2 separate regions of the Homo sapiens genome follow, and region 2 is linked to region 1. The links are contacts of gene promoters, found by promoter capture Hi-C in blood cells and fetal thymus (Javierre and others, 2016). All regions are on one chromosome and are shown on one strand. Each heading gives the region's core, a stretch centred on a gene start or on the middle of the fragment in contact. The rest is flanking DNA. Distances are from core to core; before and after follow the strand shown.

Region 1 (6,386 bases), core at 1,991-4,490:
GATTGCATCACTAGGTTGGGTCCTGTGAGCTGTTTTGTTCTTTTCCAAGTGTCTGATTCAGCGGGCCATAGACCGCTTGCCAGAAAATCGCCATTGCTTCTAGGCTGACGCTTGCCTACTTGTTTTGATCGTCTGAGAGAAGAGACTTTGTTTGCCAAAACCACAGTTGATAGAAATAGAAAGGTACAGATAAGAAAAAGCACTGCAATTATAATTAAGCAAATTAGCATAGCCATGTTGTTGTTGTTTTCCGCACAGACATCCTTTTTGAAAATTTCACCATGACTTTTGCTTGTGTTTTCAATGCTCTGTACTGTTGAAGGACTGTTGCTGACGACAGAAGGTATATAAAGCTCCTGTTCAGATTTAGAAGTTAAAGCTACGATGTGAGATGTTTCAGGCATGTTTGTAGAATTACCTTTATAATCTACTTCAGGAGTTATAGGGTTTGTGTTAATGTTTTCATTTTGGTTTCTGCCTGTCTTGTTTTGAATAACTGAATCCCAGGAAGAAGTACTGTTAGCCCACAGACGGGTATAGTTTGCTTTTGTTCCAGGAGACAAAGAAAAAACTGTTGTCATCAGAAAGGCAAGATGTAGGTAATGTCCTGTGTGTTCCATGTCCGTGGGCATGCTTGGCAATCTGTTGGGATAGCAATATAATTTGTTAGTTTGTGAAAGAATAATGGATCCTAGTTTTGGTAATTGTAGTTAAAAGATAGTGTTGAGATGTTACAAGTAAACTACAAGCTTATGCCTAATATTCGCTACCCTGAATTCCTTCTCAACTAAATTTCTTTTCTATTCAGCTATGTATGAAGAAGCATTTTAATTTCTATTAACACTTTTAGATGCTAGAAGTTAGCATTACAAATAAATATTAATCATTTTAAGTGGACTATCATGGCTTTATATAGTTTTCTTCCTTTGAAGCGTGCTAGACTTCTGCTTTGAGTCAGTTAGTTCTGCTTTTACTTTTCTGATTCCTTCTTTAAAAAAAAAAAAAAATTAAGGATCATTCTTACAGAAACTACCCACCCTCTAACCTGTCACCAATCTTTACAGAAGAAATGTGGCCTTGAGCTTCTTGCTTCATGTATGAAATAAATGCAAATTTTTTTGGTGGAAAGAGGGGAAGTTTGGTAGCAACCAAAAGAAACTGAACTTCAAATAGAAATTCAAGGTGTTCTTTTTTTTTCTTGGGTGTTCATCTTGAAGCTTAGAATAAAGCTGGTACTTAGAAATACATTTGTAAGTGTATTTGTGAACGCAATTTTACTGTGGTGGTTGTCTCTTTTCATTTATATTTCCCTGGACTGACTGTGTCTTTCTGAAGGCAAAGGCATACCAGTTTTCTCAACCTAAAAATCTGAAGAAAAAAAAAAAAAAACAGCAAATTTCCTCTGAGTAGACTTAAAAGTTCAACAAAAGTTGCTGGGTTTTCTTTTAAAGCATCATTTATACCTAGCATTTTTTCTGATTTTGACATAATTGTAAAAAAAAATGTGTAATAAAATAGAAATAGAGCATCAGGATCTTGATGATTTGGGATGAAGTGGCAGGTTATAAGCATCTCAACAGATAATTGAAAATGTTGAATTTCCGCTTTGGCCCTGAGCTTGCTGGAAACTAGTACAAAAAGGAGACAAGTTATATTATACATTTTTTAAATCTACCAAATGATTGATTTAAATAGAAATGGCATATCTTAGAATTTAACAGTTCCATGTACTGCTAACCCAGCAGGAAAGATTTATAATCATTATTAAGGTATCTTATAATAATATACCAGTTTGTCTTGAGCTACTTTTGAAAGGAGTATTTTATTGTTAGCATTTATTTGAATGAACTAAAAGCAAAACTATATTGTTCTCCTGAGATTTACTAAATGAAATTGCCTGGTTAAGAACCCTACGTATGCTATAGAAATTCTTCTCAAATGTACTTAGGAGTCCTTTTATTTAAAAAAAAAAAAAAAAGGCAGATTCTTACCTAGCTAGTATAGGTAGGGCCTGAAAGTCTTTGTTTCCAAACCAACTCCTAAGCAACATGGATGCCACTGCTAGTCAGGCTTTTGAACATCAAGGTTTTATAAGAAATGGTTGTTATATGTCATTGGCTGACATTTGTATACTATTAAAATACAGAAATTGAAAATAAGAAATGTGATACGTTGAGTTATGCAAACAAAAGTAGCATGTAATAAACAATGCTAACTGGAGACTATATTTCATATTAATAGTAGGGAGGAAAAACTATTAAATATTCCAGGATTAAGATTACTTTTTAGATTATGACCTTTAGTAGACAATTAAAGGCCCAAGTCACTGGCTTTTGTATAATAGTGTTCAGCTTTAATTTTTAAGTTTAGTGACATAAATCTTTGGATATTTCATGATTCTTCCACAAAAAGAAATACTTGAAATTGGATTAGCAAGTAATTTCCATCTTTTTATACTAGACTGGACTTCTGTATTAGATGCTAGAATGATTTAAAGTAGATTATTCTTTTCACATTAGTTCATTAACAGTGTAGTATACATCATAGTATTGGTACACATTTTAACAGTGCTTACCACGGAACAGATAATAGGCCTGCTGTTGATTGTCTTCAGCCAGATGTACTGCAGTGCCCAAATAAACAAACTGTATGACAAAATGAGACTTTCTCTTGCCCTTACAAATGCCTGAGAATTGAGGACTGTTTTTACTCCAGTTTATGCCTTGGAGGCCAGGTTGTGTTATCAGAAGTTTTCTTATATCTGATCATTTTCAGTAGAATTTATTTTCAGTAGAATTTGTAATGTCCAAGCATTAGTAATGAGAAATTTATTTTTTAACTTTTGAAAAATAACAAAACATTTCCAGTTTACTTGAGGAAACCAAACTTAGATCCTTCGTAATCCTAATTTAAAACTCCATGGCGATGGCAAATTTTTTCATTTCTAACTTAAAATTTATGTAACAGGACAGAAAAAAAAAGTATACATTTTCAGTCACAATTCTAGTTTGTTAGTGAGATTCTTACACACTTTGATAGCATTTCCTCGAACACTAATCTGTCAGACGTTAGAAGTGAAAAGGCATAAGAAAAGCCGTATATATATGACCTACCTTACAAAATGCTTGGTCAAAATCTGATTATAACGTGATTTTGATAAACCACTTCTTTTCTTGTCTTCTTTTTAAAGCAGAATAGACTTGGAGAATATGAGCCTTAAAGTAAATCTGCAGTAAAAAAGGATATGTGCAGCTAGTTTTCCACTTTTAAAACCAAACCACAGATGACACATTTCCTTTCCACTGCAACTAAAGCACATGTCACAGGAGGGAAAAAAAAAAAAACAACGAAAAAGCTCCAACTTCTCTAGTTGGCCACTGGCATGACAGGAGGCTTTGTAGAACCAATCCCCGCCTCCAGAGCAGGGAGGGTTTTCCACTTAATGCCTTTTGACAGTATGCTCATTCTATAGGCCTGCTACATGCTTTAGTGTCATTCAAAAGAGGTTTTGAAATGGTATCTTCCATTTCAAATCTTCTCTAAAAGACTTATTTGAAATCTACAGACTGATTTGAAAATGTGAGTTTGGAGTCCATGGGATACTGATCAGATAATGTAACAATTGTGGAACTGCAGCAATTATTTGAGAAAATATCTAGTAAACTTAGATTATATGGGACAGAAAATGCTTTCGTGTGGTGTAGTGTGTGTATACACACACACACACACACACACACACACACACACAACTGTCAAACATCCTGTCATCACCTCAAGTTTAACATGACTGAAACAGACTTTAAGAACTAGGTATGGGCTGAACACGGTGGCTCACACCTGTAATCCCAGCACGTTGGGAGGGTTGACGCAGGCAGATCACTTGAGGCCAGGAGTTCAAGACCAGCCTGGCCAACATAGAGAAAACCTGTCTCTACTAAAAATATAAAAATTAACCAGGCAGGGTAGCATGCACCTGTAGTCCCACCTACTTGGGAGGCTGAGACAGGAGAATAGCTTGAACCCGGGACGTGGAGGCTGCAGAGATCATGAGATCTTGGCTGCATGAGCTAAGATCATGCCACTGCACTCCAGCCAGGAAGACAGAGTAAGACTCTGTCTCAAAAAAAAAAAAAAAAAAAAAAAAAAAAAAAAAAAGAACTGGATATGGCAGCACATATCTGTAATCCCAGCTACTAGGTAGGTTGAGGTAGGAGGATCACTGGTGGAGCCCAGGAGTTCAAATCCAGCCTGGGTAACATAGCAAGACTCCATCTCTTAAAAATTAATTAAATTAATGAAATAAAAAGAACTTTATTTTTTCTTTAAAGGAGGCTGCCTGTGACAGTCTTCTTGTTTCTGTTCATGATAGCAACATTCTAATATCAGAGGCTTAGTATACAACACATCATTTTAATTTAAGTCCTCTCAGTCCTGATCAGACTTTGAATCATGTTGGTCCTTCCTTCATATTGTTGGATCAGTTTCTTTTTCCCTGTTTTTACTGTCAACAGTACTATTTTAGATCCTTATCAGGTCATACCTAGACTCTACAGTGCCTTTTCGGTAGCCCTGAATCCTTCTTATATCTTGTATACATCACTGTCTTTGGTCATACCACCCTTTCTTTAAGGGAAAATAAAACCGGTTGAACAGTTCCCTAATACATACAACAATGATTCAGAAATGTTTGTGTACATAAACATCAGATGAGAAGATTGTTTAAAAATTATAAAAGCAGGACATGGTGGCTCACACCTGTAATCTCAGCACTTTGGGAGGCTGAGGCGGGAGGATTACTTGAGCCACAGAAATTCGAGACCAGCCTGGGCAGCATGGCAAAATCCTGTCTCTACAAAAAATACAAAAAAACAAAAACAAAAAACTAGCCGGGCATGGTGGCGCTTATCTGTAGTCCCAGCTACTCAGGAGGCTGAGGTGGGAGGATCACCTGAGCCTGGGGAGGTCAAGGCTACAGTGAGCTGTGACCGTGCCACTGCAGTCCAGCCTGAGTTAAGGGAAAAAAAAAAAAGATAAAAATTTCCAGGCCCCACTACATAGATCCATATTTAGTAGGTCCAGGTTGGGACCAGGAAACTGCATTTTTATCAAGCACCACAGTTGATTCTGACGCCAGTAGTCCACAGAACATATGCTGAGAAATGGTGAGCCCCTAGTAGAAAACCTAAGCCCTTTGGTTGGGCAGTTATGGTCTCTCCACAATTTGACTATTCTGTATTTTCCCAGCTTTATCTCTCAAAACTTCTCTACCTGAATCCTCCATTCTGGCTAGACTAGCTGTCTCTTCAACACATCTAGTTACCTGTTTCTTTTCCTTTTTGCCTTTCTCCATAAGGCCTGCCCAGTCCTCTTGCTGAGTCTGCATTCCTCCTTACCTGATTCAGCCACTGTATCTTCTATGTAGCTTTCACTGACTGCCCAGTTTGTGTTAATCTCTCTCTCTCTCTCCTTTGTCTTAATAACAGTATTTTCTCTGCATTTCCTTTGATAAGTGATTACTTTCTACCTCATATCTTCTATCTTGAAATATTTGTGTTGTTTTAAAATCATTTGACTTGTCATATTTTTATCTTATTTTCTCCCAACAAGATTAAAAATTCTGAGGTGAAGTTTTTTATTGATACATGATAATTTGTACATATTAATGGAGTATGTGTGATTTTTTTGGTTTTTTTTGTTTTTGTTTTTGTTGGAATCTCGCTCTATCGCCCAGGCTGGAGTGCAGTGGCACAATCTCAGCTCACTGCAAACTCCCCTCCCAGGTTCAAGCAATTCTCCTGCCTCAGCCTCCCAAGTAGCTGGGGCTACAGGCACGTGCCACCACGCCCAGCTAATTTTTGTATTTTTAGTAGAGACAGGGTTTCACCCTGTTGGCCAGGCTAGTCTTGACCTCCTGACCTCAGGTGATCTGCCCGTCTTGGCCTCCCAAAGTGCTGGGATTGCAGGCGTGAGCCACCATGCCCTGCCTGTATGTGTGATATTTTGATACATGCATATAATGTGTAATGATTAAATCAGGGTGATTAGGATATCCATTGCCTCAAAGAAAAGAAATTGTTTCGTCTAGCTGTTTTGAAATATACAATGTTATTATTAACTAGTCACCTTACTATGAATAGTAGAACTTGTTCCTTCTATCTAATTCTAACAATACATATATTATTTATTTTATTATTATTTTTTTAAGACAGTCTCACTGTTGCCCAGGCTGAAGTGCAGTGGTACAATCTCAGCTCGCTGCAGCCTCTGCCTCCCAGGTCCAAGTGATTCTCGTGCCTCAGCCTCCCAAGTAGCTGGGATTACAGACATGTACCACCATGCCTGGCTGATTTTTGTATTTTTAGTAGAGACAGCGTTTTGCCATGTTG
Region 2 (6,172 bases), core at 2,569-5,068, 540 kb after region 1:
GGGGTTTCACCATCTTGGCCAGGCTGGTCTTGAACCCCTGACCTTGTGATCCACCCGCCTCGGCCTCCCAAAGTGCTGGGATTACAGGCGTAAGCCACTGTGCCCGGTTGTTTTTGCTCTTTTATTCCTCCCTTCAGCCTCAAAGAGCATGTTAGAGGTGAGCACAGGGACAAAGGGGAGCAGGGGCACTGCAGGCAGAAGACCAGAACCCATCTAATCACAATGGGCAGCACCTAGTGCCTCCCTCTGACATCAGGGAGGCCGGAAGGTACATTTTCAAAAGGCCTCACAATAACGGAGGAAAGACTGGGGAAAGATAATGGATTTCCGAGCACATAGTGCTTTGGTGATGCCAGGTCCCAGGAGAGAAGGCAATCAGCCTAAAACAGCCATGCTCTTAATACTGGAACAACAGTAACAGTGATAAGCAATAAAGTGATAGTTCAGAGCAAGGGGTCTAAAGCCAGACTGTCTGATTTCAAATCCGTGTTTTGTCAATTACCAAACATCGGACTGGGCCGGGCACGGTAGCTCACCCTTGTAAACCTAGCACTTTGGGAGGCCAAGGTGGGTGGACTGCTTGAGCTCAGGAGTTCAAGGCCAGCCTGAACAATGTCGCAAACCCTGTCTCTACAAAAAATTCAAAAAATTTAGCTGGGTGCAGTGGCATGCACCTGTAATCCCAGCTACTCAAGAGGCTGAGGTGGGAGGATCGCTTGAACCTGGGAGGTGGAGGCTGCAGTGAGCCAAGATCGTGCCATTGCACAGAGTGAGACCCTGTCTCCAAAAAAAAAAAAAAAAAAAAAAAAAAAAGTGTGATTGAGCTGAAATTTACTTAACTAGTTCCATAACATAAATATAGAATTACCATATGACCCAGCAATCCCAGTCCTAAACATATACCCAAAAGAACTGAAAACAGCTGTTCAAATAAAACAAGGATACTCACAGCAGCACTATTTACAATCACCAAAAGGTAGACACAACATCAAATGTCCATCAATGGATGAATGGAAAAACAAAATGTGGTATATGCATATGATGGAATTATTCAGCCATAAAAAGGAATGCAGTGCTGATACATGCTACGGCATGGATGCACCTTGAAAATACGCTAAGTGGAAGAAGCCAGACACAAAAGGCCACATATTGTTATGATTCCCTTTACAGGCAACTCACATTTGCCTATCCAGAACAGATAAACCCACAGAGACAGAAAGCAAATTAGTGGTTGCCAAGAGCTCAGAGAAGGAAGGAATGGAGAATGACTACTTGGTGAGCACAGGGTTTCCTTTTAGGGTGATGAAAAGATTCTGGAACTAGGTAGTGGTGATGGTTGCACAACACTGCCATTGTGCTAAAAGGCTACTGAATTATATGCGTTAAAATGGTTACATGGTAAATTTAGGTTATGCATCTTTTACCACAATTTTTAAATTGTTTTTATTTAACTGTTCTGTGCCTCAACTTCCACATCTGTAAAATGAAGATAGGGTTGTTGTGAGAGTTAAAAGAAAAAAAAAGGCCAGGCACGGTGGCTCATGCCTGTAATCCCAGCACTTTGGGAGGCCGAGGTGGGCGGATCACCTGAGGTCAGGAGTTTGAGACCAGCCTGGCCAACATGGTGAAAGCCCCTCTCCACTAAAAATACAAAAATTAGGCCGGGAGCAGTGGCTCACGCCTGTAATCCCAGCACTTTGGGTGGCCAAGGAGGGCAGATCACGAGGTCAGGAGATCGAGACCATCCTAACAAGGTAAAATCCTATCTCTACTAAAAACACAAAAAATTAGCCAGGCGTGGTGGCGGGTGCCTGTGGTCCCAGCTACTCGGGAGGCTGAGGCAGGAGAATGGTGTGAACCCAGGGGGCAGAGTTTGCAGTGAGCCGAGATAGTGCCACTGCCTGGGAGACAGAGCGAGACTCCGTCTCAAAAAATAAATAAATAAATAAATAAATAAATACAAAAATTAGCCAGGCGATATGGTGCACGCCTGTAATCCCAGCTACTCAGGAGGCTGAGGCACGAGAATCACTTGAACCCGGGAGACAGAGGTTGCAGTGAGCCAAGATTGCGACACTGCACTCCAGCCTGGGTGACAGAGTGAGACTCCATCTCAAAAAAAAAAAAGAAAAAGAAAAAAAGGGGCCAAGCGTGGTAGCTCACACCTGTAATCCCAGCACTCTGAGAGGCTGAGGCAGATGGATCAGGTGAGGTCAGGAGTTCGAGACCAGCCTGGCTAACATGGTGAAACCCCATCTCTACTAAAAATACAAAAATTAGCTGGGCATGGTGGCATATGCCTGTAATCCAGCTACTTGGGAGGCTGAGGTAGGAGAATGCTTGAATCCAGGAGGCAGAGGTTGCAGTGAGCCAAGATTGTGCCATTGCACTCCAGCCTGGGCAACAAGAGCAAAACTCCCTCTCAAAAAAAAAAAAAAACGGCAGGGGGCTGGGCACAGTGGCTCATGCCTTTGTAATCCCAGCACTTTGGGAGCGTGGGCTCACAGTAATCCCAGCACTTTGGGAGGCCTAGGTGGGCAGATCACTTGAGATCAGGAGTTCGAGACCAGCCTGGCCAACATAGTAAAACCCCATAGCTACTAAAAATACAAAAGTTAGCTGGGTGTGGTGGCGCGTGCCTGTAGTTCCAGCTACTCGGGAGGCTGAGGCAGGAGAATTGCTTTAACCTGGGAAGCGGAGGTTGCGGTGAGCTGACATCGTGCCACTGTACTCCAGCCTGGTGACACAGCGAGACTCCGTTTCAAAAAAAAAAGATATTTTGAGAGAGAACACATTCACGTAACTTTCAGTATACTGGCATAATTGTTCTATATTACTATTGTTATTAATCACATATGCATAATTTATAAGTTAAACCATATCAGAAATAGTATATATAGGAGGAAAAAAAAGCAGTTTCAGGCATCCATTGGGGCGGGGGGGTCTTAGAATGTATCCCCTAGGAATAAGGTGAGACTGCTGTACTATTTTCACCGTTTCAAGCTGTTTCTCTCGGTAGAAGGATGGATTTGAACATAAGAAAAGTTCAGGACTTCCCTTAAGGAAGCTCCAAGCAAGGCTTCCAAAGGAGGTTACTGTTCAACTGGGCAGAGAAGGCCACTAAGCAGCAGAGAGGACTGGCTAAAAGAGAAGGTAAATGAGACAGAGGGACTATTCCTCTCCTCACATCCTTGGTCTCCCCAACTTCCGTCTCTGCCATCTACTTGCCTAGTCGATCCATAGCCTTCTCAGTCTCTCTCTCCTGACTGGAGTGGTCAGCTGTAGCAAAGCCAGCCTGCAGGAAGAAGAAATGATTACCAAGGACTTGGGTATCTGGGGTATGCCCAGTATTCAGCTATTGCATCTCAACCCCACCCACTCTTCCATACTCCCCTTGGTGATGCAGGGCTGGGACTCTGCCACCCACATTTCTACTTTGCCCTGTTAAACTGAGCAAGGCTGGAGGGAGATGGGCCTTGTTCCTTCCTATTCATGTAGGCATCACCTCATGACACTTCACCGTGGCAGCAGGAATGCCTTCCTATAGTGGCCACAGAATCCAGTATACAGTTCTGCGAACTCTTGCAGAGCCAGTCTTATCACTGCACCTTCTCTTTAGAGGTCTGGGTCTCAGGACTCTCCTCCAAGCTCAGAGACCCCCTACCATCAGCTGGGGCAGTGCCTTCTCCTTAAAGGTTGGAATTTCAGCTCTGCAGAGCCTTTTCCCTAAGCTTTTAAATTTTAATCAACTTCATCTCTTTGTTCCTTCAGCCATAGGTTGGTAGCTGTTCCCTGCGGTTGCCACCCCCAGGTACACGTTTTACCTTTTCAGTTACTTAACAACTTTATAGCTAGTAAACAACTCTATCAAATTCTCTGTTTCCTCACCAACACACTGAGGTGGGGGAAGCTTTATAATTCCTCTGCAATGCTGAGCACTGAAGGCAGTATTTCTAATCTAACTGAAAATCTTCCCGCACAGCCAACCAAATGCTTCTCTGCTCCCATCACTCAGAAGTTCCTGAAACCCTATGACCTCCAAGACCTCTTTCTAATGAATCACGAAATGTTCCCTGCCTGCATAAAAGACCTGATTTTGATCCCAGCTCTGCCATCCATTCAGAGTGTGACCTTGAACACATCACTTCAATTACTGTGCCTGAGTTTTCTTCTCCAGAAATTAGGGGTGACTGTTCTGACCCTGCAGGGGACTTATGATTAGACACCATTTATGAAAACACCTGGCATGTGGCAAGAATGTAACATTTCTTGAATTTAAATTCATCTTTTCTGCTACATCTAAACTGTACTCGGCACCTGCTCCAATCAGCATTCATTATCTAGTCATGTCTGGGTTTAATAATTCAGTTCCACTCCCTGTAGTTAGTGACAACCTCTGGTCACTGCCGCCCAAGGAGAAGTCAGACCTCTCACCTAAACCACTGCCACGGCCTCCTAACCACCTTCCCATCCAGCCATCTGGCCCAGCCTTACAGAATTAATCACTACTCTGCTCAAAACCTTCAACAGCCCTCCACTGAGAGAGCACAAAATTAGCCATGGCATTCGCACGTCCCCTCTTCTCCCACTCCCATCAACCTGTTGAGCATAGTTCTCTGCATGCTCTGAGACCCAACTCCAGGCCATGTGCCCTGCACTTTCTCATCTCCACGCCTCTGCAGACACCACCAGCCTCTCACCTTGATCCTTTCCTGCTATGCCCTGACAAAATTAGTCCCATTCTATTCTGCACTCCAAAGTAATTTTCTTTGTAAGTGTCGCTGCATTTTTCATATCTTACTTTGGCTAAGTACCATCTTTGAGGCATCATTCATCCAGTCGGTATGTCTATCTCCTGTGCCAGGCACTATGCTAGGCTGTGCAAACAGCCCTAACAGAGGGTTCCTACCTTCAAGCCGCTCAGCACCTAGCCGGTACAGACTGTAAACAAGGACAGGTAAGAACTGTAATAACGGTCTGTAACGTTCTCGGGAAAACCAGGAGCTGTCTAGCTTACATGAAAACAAGTTTCTGGAAACCCTGCGTCAAACAGGGCCTTTCTGGTTTCAGTAAGGAGAAGGGGGAGCGCGCATGTGACATCTGGGGCTCAGGGTTAGCTGGCATCCCCACCAACGGACAGAGGTCCACAGGTCTGTAAAGTCAAGTCCCTCTCCTCGCCGCCCTCACCTGGCCCTCGCCCAGGCTCCTGGCAGCGGGCCCCGGCTCTCGGTCACCAGCGTCACCTCCCATTTACCAAATCCGCAGCGGCGCCCAGCGGGCGGACAGCCGTCTCTGCTGACCCAGAGCGCCCACCCACGCCCTCGGCTTTCCCCGCCCCGCAGCCCCGCGGCCCCGCGGCCTGGCCGTTTTCAGCTCGAGCGCGAGCCCAAACAGCGCTCCGTGTCGCGGGGCGGCCCGAGGCCGGCCAGAGGCGCTTCCCCGGCCCCGCGGCCCCCGCCCAGCCCGGCCCCGCGACTTCCCGCCCCAGGCTGCGGCTGGCTGTTGCTCCTGGCCCCCACGCGGCGCTCACCTCCGGGCTGGGGGGCGCCCCCCGCGCGCTAGGCAGCGGCGGGCCCCGAGACGGCTCCGCGGCCCCCTGCGCCTGGGCCCCGGCGGCCTGAAGGTCCATGCCCTGCGGCCCGCGGCTGGTCGCCCTGGACGCCGTGGGCCACGTGACGCGCCGGCCCGGCTGCCCGCCCGAGGATCCGCCGCAGAAGCGCCAATCAGCCTGGGGAGGGGGTGGGTACCGGCCAAGAGGGCGGGGCGCGGGGGTGTCACGAGCAAGCGGGGGCGGGGCGGCGCAGGGGGCGGGGCGCGCGGCCTCGCGGAGCCCGCCCCTCCCTCCCAGCGCGAAATCTGAAACAATCTCGGAGACGGATTTTGGAAACTCCTCTCGGTGCATATCCTAAGGCTGCACGACTAGCTGCGTGTGAAACGCCAAGCGTACCCTACTCGGCCACTCGGGGTGTGCTCCAGCTTCAAAACCCCGCGTGGGTAAGACACATGAGCAACCCAGTGACCTCCACCTTGAGCTAATGATCGTCTTTGAAGTTAATCCATTAGAAACCAAGATAGATGATTAAGACACAAACTGCAATATGCAGTGGACACAGAATACAGGCCACGACGCTTACTCATAATAATCCTGAACATTCGGGATTCCTGTATTTCC

What was found. Contacts are between HindIII fragments. The CHiCAGO score rates a contact against its expected background, and 5 or more counts as called.
Region 2: a contact is called between a fragment that was not itself captured here and the fragment with the promoter of EVI2A in region 1, in 1 of 17 cell types (fetal thymus). The highest score is 5.0, in fetal thymus.

Annotation. Positions count from the first base shown.
Region 1 is chr17:31,318,382-31,324,767 of GRCh38, forward strand. It overlaps EVI2A (ecotropic viral integration site 2A), which reads right to left and starts at 3,241. Exons shown (of 2, transcript NM_014210.4): 1 at 3,114-3,241; 2 at 1-642. The coding sequence starts at 632. The region is part of intron 36 of NF1 (neurofibromin 1); the gene reads left to right. RefSeq lists enhancers at 70-119, 330-389. The HindIII fragment of the contact is 8,918 bases long and covers 1,216-6,386 here.
Region 2 is chr17:31,853,571-31,859,742 of GRCh38, forward strand. It overlaps COPRS (coordinator of PRMT5 and differentiation stimulator), which reads right to left and starts at 5,674. Exons shown (of 4, transcript NM_018405.4): 1 at 5,531-5,674; 2 at 3,229-3,295. The coding sequence starts at 5,629. RefSeq lists an enhancer at 4,661-5,335 and a silencer at 5,395-5,824. The HindIII fragment of the contact is 179 bases long and covers 3,730-3,908 here.